Regions from separate parts of the Homo sapiens genome. Here regions 2, 3, 4 and 5 are each linked to region 1. The links are contacts of gene promoters, found by promoter capture Hi-C in blood cells and fetal thymus (Javierre and others, 2016). All regions are on one chromosome and are shown on one strand. The core of a region is centred on a gene start or on the middle of the fragment in contact, and the rest is flanking DNA. Distances in the headings are between cores, read along the strand shown. Region 1 holds the start of DCP2 (decapping mRNA 2). Region 2 holds the start of EPB41L4A (erythrocyte membrane protein band 4.1 like 4A). Region 3 overlaps YTHDC2 (YTH N6-methyladenosine RNA binding protein C2). Region 4 has its middle 95 kb from the start of YTHDC2. Region 5 overlaps YTHDC2 (YTH N6-methyladenosine RNA binding protein C2).

The links. Contacts are between HindIII fragments. The CHiCAGO score rates a contact against its expected background, and 5 or more counts as called.
Region 2: the fragment with the promoter of EPB41L4A here is called in contact with the fragment with the promoter of DCP2 in region 1 in 1 of 17 cell types (total B cells); the score reaches 6.3 in total B cells.
Region 3: a contact is called between a fragment that was not itself captured here and the fragment with the promoter of DCP2 in region 1, in 1 of 17 cell types (erythroblasts). The highest score is 5.2, in erythroblasts.
Region 4: a fragment that was not itself captured here is called in contact with the fragment with the promoter of DCP2 in region 1 in 5 of 17 cell types (naive CD4 T cells, total CD4 T cells, activated CD4 T cells and 2 more); the score reaches 10.9 in naive CD4 T cells.
Region 5: a contact is called between a fragment that was not itself captured here and the fragment with the promoter of DCP2 in region 1, in 1 of 17 cell types (total CD8 T cells). The highest score is 5.7, in total CD8 T cells.

Annotation. Positions count from the first base shown.
Region 1 is chr5:112,975,464-112,978,163 of GRCh38, reverse strand. It overlaps DCP2 (decapping mRNA 2), which reads right to left and starts at 1,366. Exons shown (of 11, transcript NM_152624.6): 1 at 1,178-1,366. The coding sequence starts at 1,230. RefSeq lists enhancers at 916-1,025, 1,136-1,185, 1,196-1,285, 1,356-1,405, 941-1,700 and 2 more. The HindIII fragment of the contact is 6,686 bases long and covers 1-2,700 here.
Region 2 is chr5:112,417,856-112,420,555 of GRCh38, reverse strand. EPB41L4A (erythrocyte membrane protein band 4.1 like 4A) reads left to right here and starts at 1,279. Exons shown (of 23, transcript NM_022140.5): 1 at 1,279-1,615. The coding sequence starts at 1,517. It overlaps EPB41L4A-DT (EPB41L4A divergent transcript), which reads right to left and starts at 973. Exons shown (of 1, transcript NR_027706.1): 1 at 1-973. RefSeq lists a silencer at 525-614. The HindIII fragment of the contact is 9,034 bases long and covers 1-2,700 here.
Region 3 is chr5:113,590,192-113,592,891 of GRCh38, reverse strand. It overlaps YTHDC2 (YTH N6-methyladenosine RNA binding protein C2), which reads right to left. Exons shown (of 30, transcript NM_022828.5): 27 at 1,648-1,851; 28 at 714-896. Among named protein-coding and RNA genes, the nearest start is that of YTHDC2, 78 kb to the right of the region's middle. The HindIII fragment of the contact is 171 bases long and covers 1,200-1,370 here.
Region 4 is chr5:113,607,556-113,610,255 of GRCh38, reverse strand. No RefSeq gene overlaps it. Among named protein-coding and RNA genes, the nearest start is that of YTHDC2, 95 kb to the right of the region's middle. The HindIII fragment of the contact is 6,590 bases long and covers 1-2,700 here.
Region 5 is chr5:113,525,724-113,528,423 of GRCh38, reverse strand. YTHDC2 (YTH N6-methyladenosine RNA binding protein C2) reads right to left here. Exons shown (of 30, transcript NM_022828.5): 4 at 1,639-1,838. Among named protein-coding and RNA genes, the nearest start is that of YTHDC2, 13 kb to the right of the region's middle. The HindIII fragment of the contact is 5,116 bases long and covers 1-2,700 here.

The DNA of each region.
Region 1 (2,700 bases), core at 117-2,616:
CTCTACTAAAAATACAAAAATTAGCCGGGTGTGGTGGCGGGTGCCTGTAATCCCAGCTGCTAGGGAGGCTGAGGCAGAGACTCGTTTGAATCCGGAAGGCAGAGGTTGCAGTGAGCCAAGACCGCACCACTGCACACCAGCCTGGGCAAAAGAAAGAGGCTCCGTCTCAAAAAATAAAAACAAAAAAACAAACAAACAAAAAAAACCCCAAAAAACTCCACAAACACCAGTTCTTTACTTTCCATTAAAAAAAACTGCATGAAGGAGATACAACTACTAAAAGCCTGCCTTTTAAAACATAAACACAGTAACTGTGAACGAAAAGGTGTTATCACTTGTAATCACAATCCACACACACTTGGCGACAACTCCGGGTATCACTGCACTCCAAATTTTACCTTCGGAAAATAAGCATTTTTAAGTATCCTACACGTGTTTGGCTATCTGAAATCAGAGTTGACAAGGGGGAAGAATGCAGAAAATTTCTCATCTGAAGTATACACCCTGAGTTAAAACCCCGCGGTTGAGAATTTCCTTTAAAATAGGATTATTAAGGATAAAAAGAAAAGCAGCGCTACACTTTTTCCCTCTCTCCCCCAAAGACAAGTCCAGGGATGAGAAAAAAAAAGTAATTCCTTACAGGAATTTACAGAGAACGCCACGGACAAATAACACGCAGGCGTCAGAATAAGTCCGAAAATTTGCTCCTTGCGCAGGTCCGCGTACCTGGGATCCTAAGCCTTAAATTACTACCCTGGGGGTCTTCCTTCAGAATCGGGGAATGAGACACAGGGAGGAGGGGGTGCACGGCGTGGAAAAGTCACAGAGGCAGAAAAAACAATGGGAGAGGGAGGCGGCGGCGGCGGCAAAACGCTAAGACCCAGGCTCCGGCGAAGCGGCTACGCCTGCGGGAAAGCAAAATAGTTGAGTAACTTAAAAAATGAGGAAATTCCGGGTGTTCTGCGGGGAAGGACGGAGGGCCTTGAGAAACAGGGAGGCTGCGGCGGAAAGAGGGGCGGTGTCGTCGGAGAGCAGGGTCGACGATGGAAAGCGAGCAGCGGCGGGAGCGGAAAGCGAGGACATGGACGTGGGCGGGGAAGAAGACCCAGAGGCCTCTGGGGGTCCGCGAAACTGAGAAAACCCGACGGGGGCGAAAGGGGGTCGGGTAGCGCGGTACCTGCAGAGATCGTCCAGGACGCTGCCGGGAATCTCCACCCGTTTGGTCTCCATGATGAGGACCCACAGCAGGAACAGTGCATCCCGGCTCCGCGCGGCCGGGGACTGACGGTACGGCACTAGGACTCCGGCTCGCCGGAGAGCTGGCAGCCGAGGAAGCCGCGGCAGAGACGACTCCAACGGAGACGAGAAGGGGAAGGGGCGGGACCCGCTCACTTCCGTCCCGCTCCCTCAGCCTTGGACCCCAAGACTGGGCCAAGGCTCGGGGCGGAGCCCCCGGAGTCACGCCCCTGCTCGCTTGAAAGGCCCAATGGGAAGCTGAAGAATTGGGACTCTAAGCACTCTAAGCCAATGAGACGTTTGTTTATTGGTCTGCTACTTCCAATCCGTCTTCAAGCTGCTCAGTTGCTACTCAGAAAACCAACTTCCCGCCGCCTTTGAGGTGGCTACACGCATGCGCACCATGCCTCCTGCGCGCTTCTGGGAAGTTCAGAGGGGTCGGGGCTTAGGTGTAGACCCCGGACACATATCCGGGACTTTGGCATGTTGTGCAGGACCTCGCGGTGACTGAGCTCTTTCCTCTGCAGGGCCGACCCTGAGAATCCGTACAACACAAGAGTATGCTCGCGATTCCTGTCACCAAGTATCTTGCACTTATCGCAGCCCCCACCAACTCCAGGCCAAGAGCTGTGCCTCTTTCACTACAAACCCTTGGAGAGGGTATCCATTTTGGAGGTGGCTCTCCTCTGTGCTTCCTTAGGCACCTGGTTCCAAACATGAAGACAAGGACTTTATCTCAGTATCTGGCACCTAGCAAAATCTTAGAAAATACTGATTTAAGCTGAACTCTGATCTGTATTCCACCCTCTGCACAAAGCAATCCCCACCTGCTCGTCCTTATTCATTCCTCGTCTTGCTTAATGGAGACCAATCCATTTGGGATCTTTGGAGAAACTAGATCCATCTGTTCTTTTTCCTCTTACATCAGACCCACAGGCCCACACACACCTGCTCCGTCACAAGTTTAGTCTGTTCTACCATTTAATCTCCCATCTTTTGTCTAAATTTGTCACATGCCACTGTGTACTTCAGTTTTGCATCATTTCTCCATACTACAGTGAGAGCTGCCTAACCACTGACTCTGCCTCCATTCTTGGCCTGTGCAACTGCCTACATTTTGTTTTGTTTTACTCAGATAGGAACAAGTTATCTTTTCAGTTTCTGCTGTATGATCAAGCCCAAGTTCCTTTGGCATAAGAGGCCCGTCACCATCTATTTTGCTCCCGTTTTCCATCTTTTTTTTCCCCTCTTTCTTGGAGAATTCCTCAAATTTATCTTCCTGACAACTACAGAGTTTTTACTTATTTAGAGTTCTGTTTTGTTCTTCAAATGCCCCTTTCTTGTGGTGTCACATTCTTGCTTTGTATATTTTATTTTATCCTTCTGAGGATATTAATAATAGATTTTGACGTTTTCTTCTCCCTGAGTAGTCTTATTCCTCTCAGCTGCTTTTTGCTATTATCT
Region 2 (2,700 bases), core at 30-2,529, 560 kb after region 1:
CCAGCTGGAGAGCACAGATTGCACCTGCTCCGAAGCCCAGCGGGGCTCAGTGTCGTCCGCAGCTCAACCTCGGCTGCCTGTGCACGGACATCGGGACCCACCAGGGGTCACTGCAGCTTCAGAGCTATTGTGCCCCTCAGTCCTGGACGCGGCCGACCGCGCGGAGGGCGTGGGATTGGGACCGCCGAACCGTGGGGTCCGAGCAGCACCGCGTCCTCTTCTCCCCACCCAGCCTCCAGGTCTCTCGGGGGAAGGACGCAGCGAGCGCTGGACTGCCCCGCGGCTTGGGCGCAGTGTGCGGCTTGGCAGCGTGGACTCGCCGGCACCTCGCCGCTGGGACCACGGTCTCTGCCCCGCCCTCCGCCCCCAGCTGATACCCCGCCCAGAAGGGGCTCCCCTGCCGCGGCCAGCGCTGGACTGGGGGGTCCGCTTCGTTCCAGGGCTTTTTGCAGACGCCTGGACCGGGCCCACATGCACCTGGGCTGCTCCCGCCCGGGGCGCCACCACTCGCGCGGCCAAGAGAACTTTCCCCGGAGCCTCTGCGGCCTGGCGCGCCCAGGGCGCACCCCCCGCTCGCCCGTCCGCCGCGTTCCCAGCTGGGGCGTCGCTCCTCCGCCCGCAGGTCCCCGCCTCCCCGCTTTGCTGAATGTCCTGAAGAAGCCGTATTCCGCCGCCGCGGCAGGCATTCCCGGAGGGAGAGCTTGAACTTGGCTACACACGGCCACCCGTAATGAGCTCGGGAGTCCCCGGACGGGAGCCACACCCCGCGACGAGCTGACCTCCCCTCGCTGGTCTGGGTAAGGAGCCTGCTGCCCTTTCCGCCTCTCTTCCGGCTCCTCGGCGCTTGCGGCTGGGGGACGGGGTAGCGGACGGAGCGACGACCTTCGCCTCTGCCCCTGCGCCCATGGTCGGGGCGTCGTGGGTGCTCCTCACACAAAAGAAAAGCCGAGCGCTTCATACTCGGCGGATCTGACCCGGGGCTGCGGGGCGGGGTCGCGGCTGGAAGTGCGCGCCCGCGGGGGACTCCGCAGGCCGATCGGACGCCAGGACGTCGGGGCCGCGCTCAAATCCGTGCGGCAGGAGGGAGGTGCAGCGCTTCCAGGGTTTTCCAAGGCCGGGGAGAGCCTCGAATTCCCATCACTCCTTTTTCTGGTCTCTTGCCCCCAGTGCCAGGAGACTTTTGTCGTCCCCAGGACTGCGGGAGGGGCCCCGCGCCCCCGCCTTCGGAGGAGCTCGAGCCGCAGGATGCGCGGGGACGCGCCACCGCCCTCCGCGCCCAGTTCCGCCGGCGCTTCCCCGGCGGCTCCCGGGCGCTGACTCTCCCGGGCTTTTCCGCCTTTCTCGCTCCCGCCCCGCCGGGCGGTTCGGCGGCCGGTCCCCGGACCCCGCCGGGAGCTGCTCGTCTCACCCTCGCCACGGCGCGGACAATAAATTAATGCATCGCGCTTGAGTGGAGGGGGCGGCTGGGCGCCTCGGTGGTAGCTTTCTCTCCTGGCTGGAGACGACCACAACCGACATGGGCTGTTTCTGCGCTGTTCCGGAAGAATTTTACTGCGAAGTTTTGCTCCTGGATGAATCCAAGTTAACCCTTACCACCCAGCAGCAGGGCATCAAGGTGGGTGCGGCCCGGAGCGCGTTCCGGGGGTTGGCGGCAGGGCGGGTGCGGGGGTCCATCGCTTTGAGGGCTGTCACCGGTGGGTCGAGGGCGGCGGCCGCGACTCTGCGCGGTGGGGAGGAGAGGCCGCTGTCCCCTGCGCGCAGGGAGAGGGTGGACGTACCAGGGTGAGTTAACTTTGAGTTCCTTCATAAAGCAAAGTTGAGTTTGACGTTTCTAAGTTTACTCAGCACACCGGCTCCCAGCAGCACCCCAAAACTCTTCCCCAAACCGGTTTTCTCCAAAAGCCTCTGGGTGCCCCGCAGCTCTCAAAGAGGGGCAGAATGGGTTATACCAGCTGCGTCCCACCAGTGTGGAAGGCATGGTTTCCCTCGACTTTGTTGAAGGCGTTTTCCTTGACAGTGTTATTAGGGAAGTGAACTAGTTCACTCGTTGAAACGCATTAATGGGTCATTGTGATTGTTTTGCGTGGGTTCGTAGTTGGGTAATGCTACGTTTGGACGGAAAATATTTTCCCTTTCTACAGCGACCTGGGTTTATCCTCACATTTAAGTAAACATCTCTCAAAGCGACCCAGTAATAACTTTGCTCCTGTTTGTGGGTCATTAAAATGCAATCACTACATTAACCTAGAGAGCCCAAACAAAAAGGCAGCAGAGCTCGCAGAGATCCTCTTCCTTACATTGGATGAGAAGGTACGTATGTTTGTAGTGACAACCTGACCGACGCGCCTGCGTGCTTGTTTTGCTTTTGCAACAGTGTTAACTACCTAAAGGAGATCTAAATCCGGAGCGTTTTGTTGTTTTGTTTATCTTTCTCTTTCAGTTTTAGATCGCTAAGGCATTTTAGATAAGGCAACAGCTGAGTCTGGTGAAGGGAAACCGCCCCCCCGCCCCCGCTCTGATAGAGCTGGCTTTCTGAGAAATCGAGTTCAGGCTGCCAAGTATCCTCTCTTAGTCGCTTCATCTCAGAAGTTAATCATAATGGGGTAGGCCCTGGGCATTTCCTTTTGTGAATCAGTTTTTACATAGTTTTATGCACACTAGGATAACTATTCCTGGCTAAAAGTTTCAGCGTTAATGTTG
Region 3 (2,700 bases), core at 36-2,535, 610 kb before region 1:
TCTTATCTTGAAAATTATTAAAATATTTTTTCTTCTAAGATTTCTAGCTAACATATTTCTTCAAAATCATTATTATAGAATAAAAATGAAATTATTCTCACACAATTGAAAAGAATCCCACTTCATAGTACTCCTGTGGAATGATAACCTATGATAAGCACTTAAGAAGAACCCAAACACTTTTTACATGGTGATTTGAAACGAGTCATACTGGTTCAGATAAATTATTAGCTGTGTGACCTTAGGCAAAACTAATCTTTGAGTCTATTTTCTCCTATATAAAATTGGACTAATAATTTAATCATAAGAAATAAATTATATCTTCTAAAGCAGCTAGCATAGTATTTGGTCAATATACATTAATTTCCATCATCTTAACTAGCTTAAAATGCATGTAAATAGCATCATGAAGACAAAGCAAAACACAATAGAAATAAACAAGCCACTAGAATATAAAAAGGTTATTTACTTTACATAATTAAAGCCAAAGAGAAGTTAAATACTATTGTCATCTTGAGACTCTGACTGCAAGGAGCAATCAGACACATTTACAAGTAGGTTTTTACTATCTTTTTACAAACCTGAACCCCTGTTTCCCATGTGCATATGGAATATAAAATTTGTACTCTTACATTTTCTCCTCAATTAAAGCACTGGATAACAGAAAACAAACAGAAACAAAAGTAAATAAAAAAAAAAATGCCATTGTATACCTGCCCATCCCTGCTTATCTGCACTTTCTTGTTGTCATTCCATGGATTGAGTAAATGGTGTGCAAATTGAAAGGGAAGGCTTTCTTTTCGTATCCACTCCACCTTAAATACTCCTCCTAGTCCAGCAGAGCCCCAGTCCTGACTCTTTTCCCTTCCAATCTCAGAAGACATCCTAGAAAATCCCTGTAGGTAAAATGGGAGGAAGGAATAGAGGTGAGGAGGAGATTAGCATGTCTAAATTTAATTTATCTGAGAAGGCTGAGTTTTTAAAATTTTAAGATTAAGATATAATATTGAAATAACAGATACCTAACAAAAACAAAAAATAAGCTACTAAATTTTTCATTAAAAGCTCTCTTAGCAAATTTTAGAAAAAAACAGTTCTAGCCTCCTAACAATTTCAAATATCAATAATGATTTCTAAATAAAATAGCAAAGTCCATATTTTTATTCCATGATAAATGGATACAAGCTAACCTCTAAGCTTTCATTTCCAAAAATTATAATAAACATCAAATAATAAATGTATTATTTTATAAATTCAGGTATACATTAAGTCAAGATGGGTGATGGGTTAAGAAACATACTTAGTTTACTGATTGTCAATACTAACTTCCTTGGCCTATTTAAATAAATATTTTACCAAAAGGTCAAGCTTCTCATTACTTTGAATCCACTTGAGAATTAGTAAATCTAAAGTTGTCTTCAGAAGGAAACATAGTTTACCTGGAAAGACTCTGGTAAGACAAGGCAAAAACAAAGAGGATTCCAGTTCTATCATCCTCTAAAGAGATGCAATATATCCCTTATTCTCAGTCAAGCAAAAGGCATTCTTGCATTCTGATGCAATGAAAAGCCAGTTGTTTTTCTAAAAATCTCTATGATTTAACCTATAGCCAGAACAACCCCATTTTACTGATTCAGGGTGGCTCACCTGGAAATGTCCAGATCCTTGAACAGAAAATACCAAGTAAACTATGCTGCTTTCCCAAAAGGCTCGATTTAGCTTCCGTTCATTACTAGGAGTTGTAGACCAGATACCCTTCTGTTGAGAAATTTCAAGGTTTCTCAAATTGCTACTCTTCATTATGAAGTATCGAACAGGCATGTTTGGTCTTGGCGAAGGAGATTTTGAGCCCTATAAAAGAAAACATAAGTTCTTGAAAGGTAACCTGACCTTTCAAAACCAAGAGGCTCCATTAAATAACATCTTCATAAACATATAAGCCAAAATATTTTATCATATATTCAACAAATGCAAATAGCTCTATCATGTCTGAAACCTACACAAGACTCAACCAAAATAAAGTTAGCCAAAAACAAGTACTCATTTTCAGAGCATTCAAAATCCCTTATCAACAAAGGCTCCTGGAGTACCAACTTTGGTTTATACCTCAAATATACTTTCAGAAATTGTTTTAATAAACTTTCAAAATCAGAAAACAAAACAAATACTTCTCCAGCTTACTGCCTGGAGGCAGTTTTCAGAGGACAAAGAAAAACAGAGTCCAGTGGTCTCATTAAGTTGTGCAGAAAGACACTGGAGTTCAGAGACCGAAGTGGCTACTGTGCATGGCAATGTACTATCTTAGACAGAAAGGAGCTGCACATAAAGAGAGCTCCAAAGGAAACACAGAGGGGTTCCCACAAGTTTTTGGCTAAGTGCTGACCTGAACATGAGTGAGAAAAAAGATAAATAACCCAAGGCTAGGGAAAGATCCAAAGGAAAACAAGTAGACCAAACAATTCCTAGAGCTCACTCATGGCTGGGAATATTTCGTGTTATCTTCAGCCAGAACAGATAGAACCTGTAATATATATGGTACTGGCCCACAGAAGGGCCATACCTTAGTATTGGAACTAAATTAATAACAGAATAAAGACTGCTCTGGCCCATTCCTAACATTACTTAAAAGCAAACTTCAAAAGGATTCAACTGATTGCAACTAAACTGTGCATCACAACAAAGTCTAACGCTATTGAAAGG
Region 4 (2,700 bases), core at 91-2,590, 630 kb before region 1:
GACATTTATATTTTACCAATAATCCCTAAGATTATTTTTATTTCTTAAACATTAAAGCCACTTGCACTGAAAGGCATTATAGCTTTTATATTTGCTTTAAAAAATACTTGATTTAAATGTGTATTTTTCTTTGAGCCAATCAATTAGAGCTGTTTTATAGACATTACACACAACACATATTTAGCTATACAGACAGACAGAAGATTCAGTACTTGTAAGATTTTTCATTTGCCAGTTTCTTAACTGAATTACTGGCTTCAGGGTAGAGCCCTTGGAGGAACAGGGCTAGGAAAGCACTCATTTCTAGGGTCTAATAAGCAGGCACAGCTGAAGGCAAAGACAGATCCCCAAAATTAAGGGTGCCATTTTATACTGGATCCTGGATCCCCAAAAGGAGAGAAATACTATAGAAGAAGATAGTGCAGTGCTTCTACCATGCATTTTATTGCAAGGCAAAGCAAAGCCAATAAGCCTATTTTGTAATCAGCCCATCCCCCATGGGAGTCTCATCTCTTAGTGGGGGTAGGGATGTTTCCATATCTTCCAGGTGGTCAACAGCGTGCTTCTCTGATCCAAATGTGCAAAGAGTCAAGTATCCCTCCATAACTACTAGTAGCCATCCCTTAAAGTATATTTCCTACCTCGTTAGTACACACCAAAGGTCTCTCTAATGTGAAGCAATTTCTGATACTCCCCAAACTCTAAACCGTCAGATAACACAATGCAAAATAGAACAGAGCCTTTCATTTTGAGAGGGATTTATCCGCTTTTAATTCTGGGATTTCATGAGGAAAACAGAGGTTTTTTTCCAAAACAGGGTCTCTGGCATCTCCTCTGTTTTTCCAAAGGAATTCCAGGCTACCAAAAGTTATCTTAGGCCATCTCATGTGTGCATTAAGAGTGGCAAGACAGGCTGGGTGCAGTGGCTCATGCCTGTAATCCTAGCACTTTCACAGGCCAAGGCACATGGATTGCCTGAGCTCAGGAGTTTGAGACCAGCCTGGGCAACTCGGTGAAACCCCGTCTCTACTAAAATACAAAAAATTAGCTGGGCATGCTGGCATGCGCCTGTAGTCCCAGCTACTTGGAAGGCTGAGACAGGAGAATTGCTAGAACCTGGGAGGCAGAGGTTGCAGTGAGCCGAGATCGTGCCACTGCACTCCAGGCTGGGTGACAGCGTAAGACTCTGTCTCAAAAAAAAAAAAAAAAAAAAAAAAAAGAGTGGCAAGACAAAAAATGGAGAAAAATAATTCAGTCAACTGAGAATAAAAACCTTTTTCCAGAAAAACAAGACCCAAGAAAAGAAAAACGTATAGGCCTTTAAAATATACCTGTAGCTTGAATATCCACTTTTAATTAAGCTGAGCTCTCTTTAAGAAAATCATTTAAGATATCTTGTTACTCAACATTAGCCACACCAAGTGGTTAAGATTTTTGGCTTTTGAACTTTACCAAAAGTAACCTCACAGGTGAAACCAATAAGCCTCCATTAGGTTATGACTTAACTGCAAGTGTATGAGGTATTCTCAAAGGGGCGGTAAGCAACTTTTGAAACTGTCATTGCAAAATGACTGAGACGGTAAAAGAGGTCCAACCCAACCAACTCCATCTTGCTTCCAGCCCCCAAGCTGTCCTTGCCCATCCCTAGGCATAGGCCAAACCAACTCTGGGAGGAGCCTAGTTTACAGTTTATAGCCTAAAACAAAGATGATAGCAACTCCTTCCCAAAATAAGCCTCCCTCTTGTCTGGGCACTAGACCAAGAAACTAGCCACAAGATTAGAAACCATGGCTCAGGAGTCGTGCAGCTGGAAGCTGCAAGATTCTGACCCTCCCTAAACTGCTCCCAAGATCAGTGCTCAAGATACTTGGCAAACCCTGCCCTTGATGGATCAGCTGGCACCACCCAGATTGACAAACTGGCTCATCTGATTTTGTAGCCCCCACTCAGGAAGTGACTCAGCACAAGAAGACAGCCACCACTGTAGAATGGCAGAGACTAAAACAAAATATTGCCACGTAGTCACAGCTCATGTTCCCAAGGACATAAAACAAGATGGAGGCCTGCAGCAAACTTCATCACCGATCATTTTGTAGGGCTGGCTTGAACAGCAGGTTTATGAGGTCCCAGTCCTAAGGCACCCTTTCTTTTGACAGAACCATGCAGAAAGACATGCAAAGCACACCAGATTGACGACAGCTTAAGACCAACTACACAAATCCTTTTTCATTAATTAAAACTTAACAGAGAATGTAATCAGTGATCCTTATTATCCCTTTTACCAGTTTGCCCAGAGACAGAGAGGCCAAAAGCCCAACTGGTTAAAAAAAAACTTTTACCGTTTTGCTGGCATGTCAGCTTCTGGGTTCCCTGCTCCTGAGCTCAACTCTAAGCGATGCACTTTAAGGTTTGGGGAACTTGACATTTCTCTGTTTGGAGGAACATTATAAAAGAAGGAATAGGAGCCATTTTAAACTGTGAAAGAAGGAAGGAGAAATACCATAGAAAAGTCTAGCGGTTTGGGTAGTAGAACTGGAGGAGCTGACATGTGGATGGGGGGCAGGAAGGGCCACAGCATCTGGAAGTTGCATTCGAGGGTTGCATTCAAGGGTTTCCTGAGGGTTTGTTTCTCTAATTTTGGGGAATCATTTTCTTTGGGCCCTCCTGATATGACTGGTAAAAAAGCTGAGTTGATTGTGC
Region 5 (2,700 bases), core at 201-2,700, 550 kb before region 1:
TTAAAGGCAAGATAAAATACTACTTACATTCTGTTTTATATTTCAAAGAATAAAAACATTAGTATTTTAATTAACTCTTTAAATAGGACAAAATTATTTCTCAGGTTTGAACTCATTAAATTAACAGTTTCTTCTTAAAAAGCAAAGAGTATAATATTTACGAATTAAATTCACAAGTATCCTTTCATATCTAGTAAAATGATACACATAACTGTTGAAAACAGGCATCCATAATTCTCATATATAGATATCATTAGCAAGGACATTCAAATAATTTAAACAAAGACCTATTTATTACATTTTATCGAAACTTCCATAATCTCTATTCTATATAATTAGAACTGCTACAATTAATACTTAATGGCAAAATTACTCACCCTAAAAAAATTATAACAATCTAAGACAGCTAAACAAATTCTCTGGAGTAACTCCATGGAATTTCACTTAATCATAAAAGCACTCATGCTGGGTCAGGCGTGGTGGCGGGTGCCTGTAATCCCAGTTACTCAGGAGGCTGAGCCAGGAGAATCGCTTGAACCTGGGAGGCACTGAGGTTGCAGTAAGCCGAGATAGCACCACTGCACTCCAGCCTGGGTGACAGACAGAGACTTGGTCTCAAAAAAATAAAAAACAAACTCATGCTAAAGAAAGATCTTGTATAGTCTTCAGAAAAAAATTTCATCATGTTTTTAATTATTCAGTTTTACAGGATCAAGTTTTAAGGATAAACAGATATAATTCTGTAAAAATGTTTAAGTCCTTCAAGTAAAAAACTGGTAAAGTTTATACTCAACTTCTCCTCCCACCTTGCCTTATCTACTAAGCCTATTAAACTAACCAATATAATCACAGGAAATTTTAGGCAATTGTCAAAAGCAAAATTATGTCCCTAAAAGAAGAAAACCTACAAATATTCTATTTATTATTTTATCTGAACCTCTATTAAAAGCAAACTAATTTTAGTAATTTTAAGCTGAAATGCCGCAAGAATGTACACAAGAGTCATATGATGTCATACTTACTACTTCCAATCTGTTATCCTATGAGTAAAACTTCATAAGGAGGTACTTTGATTCTAAAAATGCAAGTCAAACCTATCATATTAATTCCATTCTACAGTCAACTTTATATTAATATTTGTTATTACTGCTTTTACTTTGGTTCCTATATGCAAAATGCTATGCTAGGCACTTTACAGAGATAATCTCTACACCTCACTGTGAAAGGTAGCAATGATTAGTCCCATTTTATAAATGAGAACTCTGGCTCACAGAGGTTACAAAAAGAGCCTGGAACTTCAATAACTGAGGGAACTGGAATCTAAATTCAAGGCCAAAGCCCATCTTCTTTCCATGATACCAAATCAGTTTCCCAACTCTGTTTAAATAAAGGCCTAATGCACTAGTTTAAAAATAAGTAAATTATTTAAAACATTTTCTTTCTACAAATTCTCCAAATATATTCCAGTAGTAATTTACTTCTGAAATAACCATTACTATAATAACCACAAGTTTCTTTTTCTGTTTTTTTAAACATATGCAGTGTAAATTTGATATAAAATTATAATATGGGACTATATATATATATATATATATATTTTTTTTTTTTTTTTCTATAAACAACAAAAAAGAAACAAACCTGTGTGGTCTTTCCAGACCCAGTTTCTCCTACAATCAAAACTACTTTATTTTCCTTAATTATTTTAACAATTTCTTCCTGTTTCTCAAACACTGGTAAAGACTGCCTAAAAGAATCAAATTCGGATTCTCCTCTTTTCACTGGAATCTGAGGTATGCCATTGTTGAGTCGCCCACTTGTCTTGCTCATTTCCCGGTTTTCTTTGAAAATGAATAAAAGAACAAAAAATGTATGATCAACACGGAAAAAGAAGTGTTAAAAATAAGTAATTTTTTTTGCCAAACCTAGAAAAACATGCCAAAAGACATAATTTCTAACATAATTCCTTTCAAATGTTTTCTTCTCTACTCAGTCTACATAAAGTTGTCAAGCAATATCTCAATTGTACTCTTACACATAATATTCTCATTGAACATGTTACAAAATTTCAATATCAATTAGAAAGTGAACCTCAGACATATTTCTGGTACATAATGTTTAAAAATTGATAAAAATAAATCATTCAATAACCATTAAAAATAAAACAATCTTGATAATCTAGATGATTTTTAGGCTTGTTATAAATTTCTATCAATAATTTCATGGAAAATTAAATTTTTGTAGTAGGAAATAATGTACATTATACTTATAAGATCTGTCACGTACATTACGAAAACATATTACAAAAAAAAGAAAATATCCCATATATGTTTAATGCTATACATGTAAGATTAAGTGATCAAATAGAATAATTATGTGTTAAATATAAAGGTCCTAATGTTAACAAATTTCCTAATGGCGTATTTTAGCCAACATCCACATTTAACTAAACAGATAGGAATAAAGAAGAGGTATGAAATGTTTTATATTCATGTAGCTCAAAATATGTTTGTGTGCCTATATTTAAAGTGAAAGTTCTTTGATATCTAGGACCACATATTTTCTATATTCTGCTGATCTATTCCAATAGACAATAATAACTATGTAAATTTTATCACTATAGGCAATAAATAGTTTTCTTAATAGGGAAGTGATCTTTCCAAATAGTAAAATTACATCTTTATTTTATAACCCAAATACATT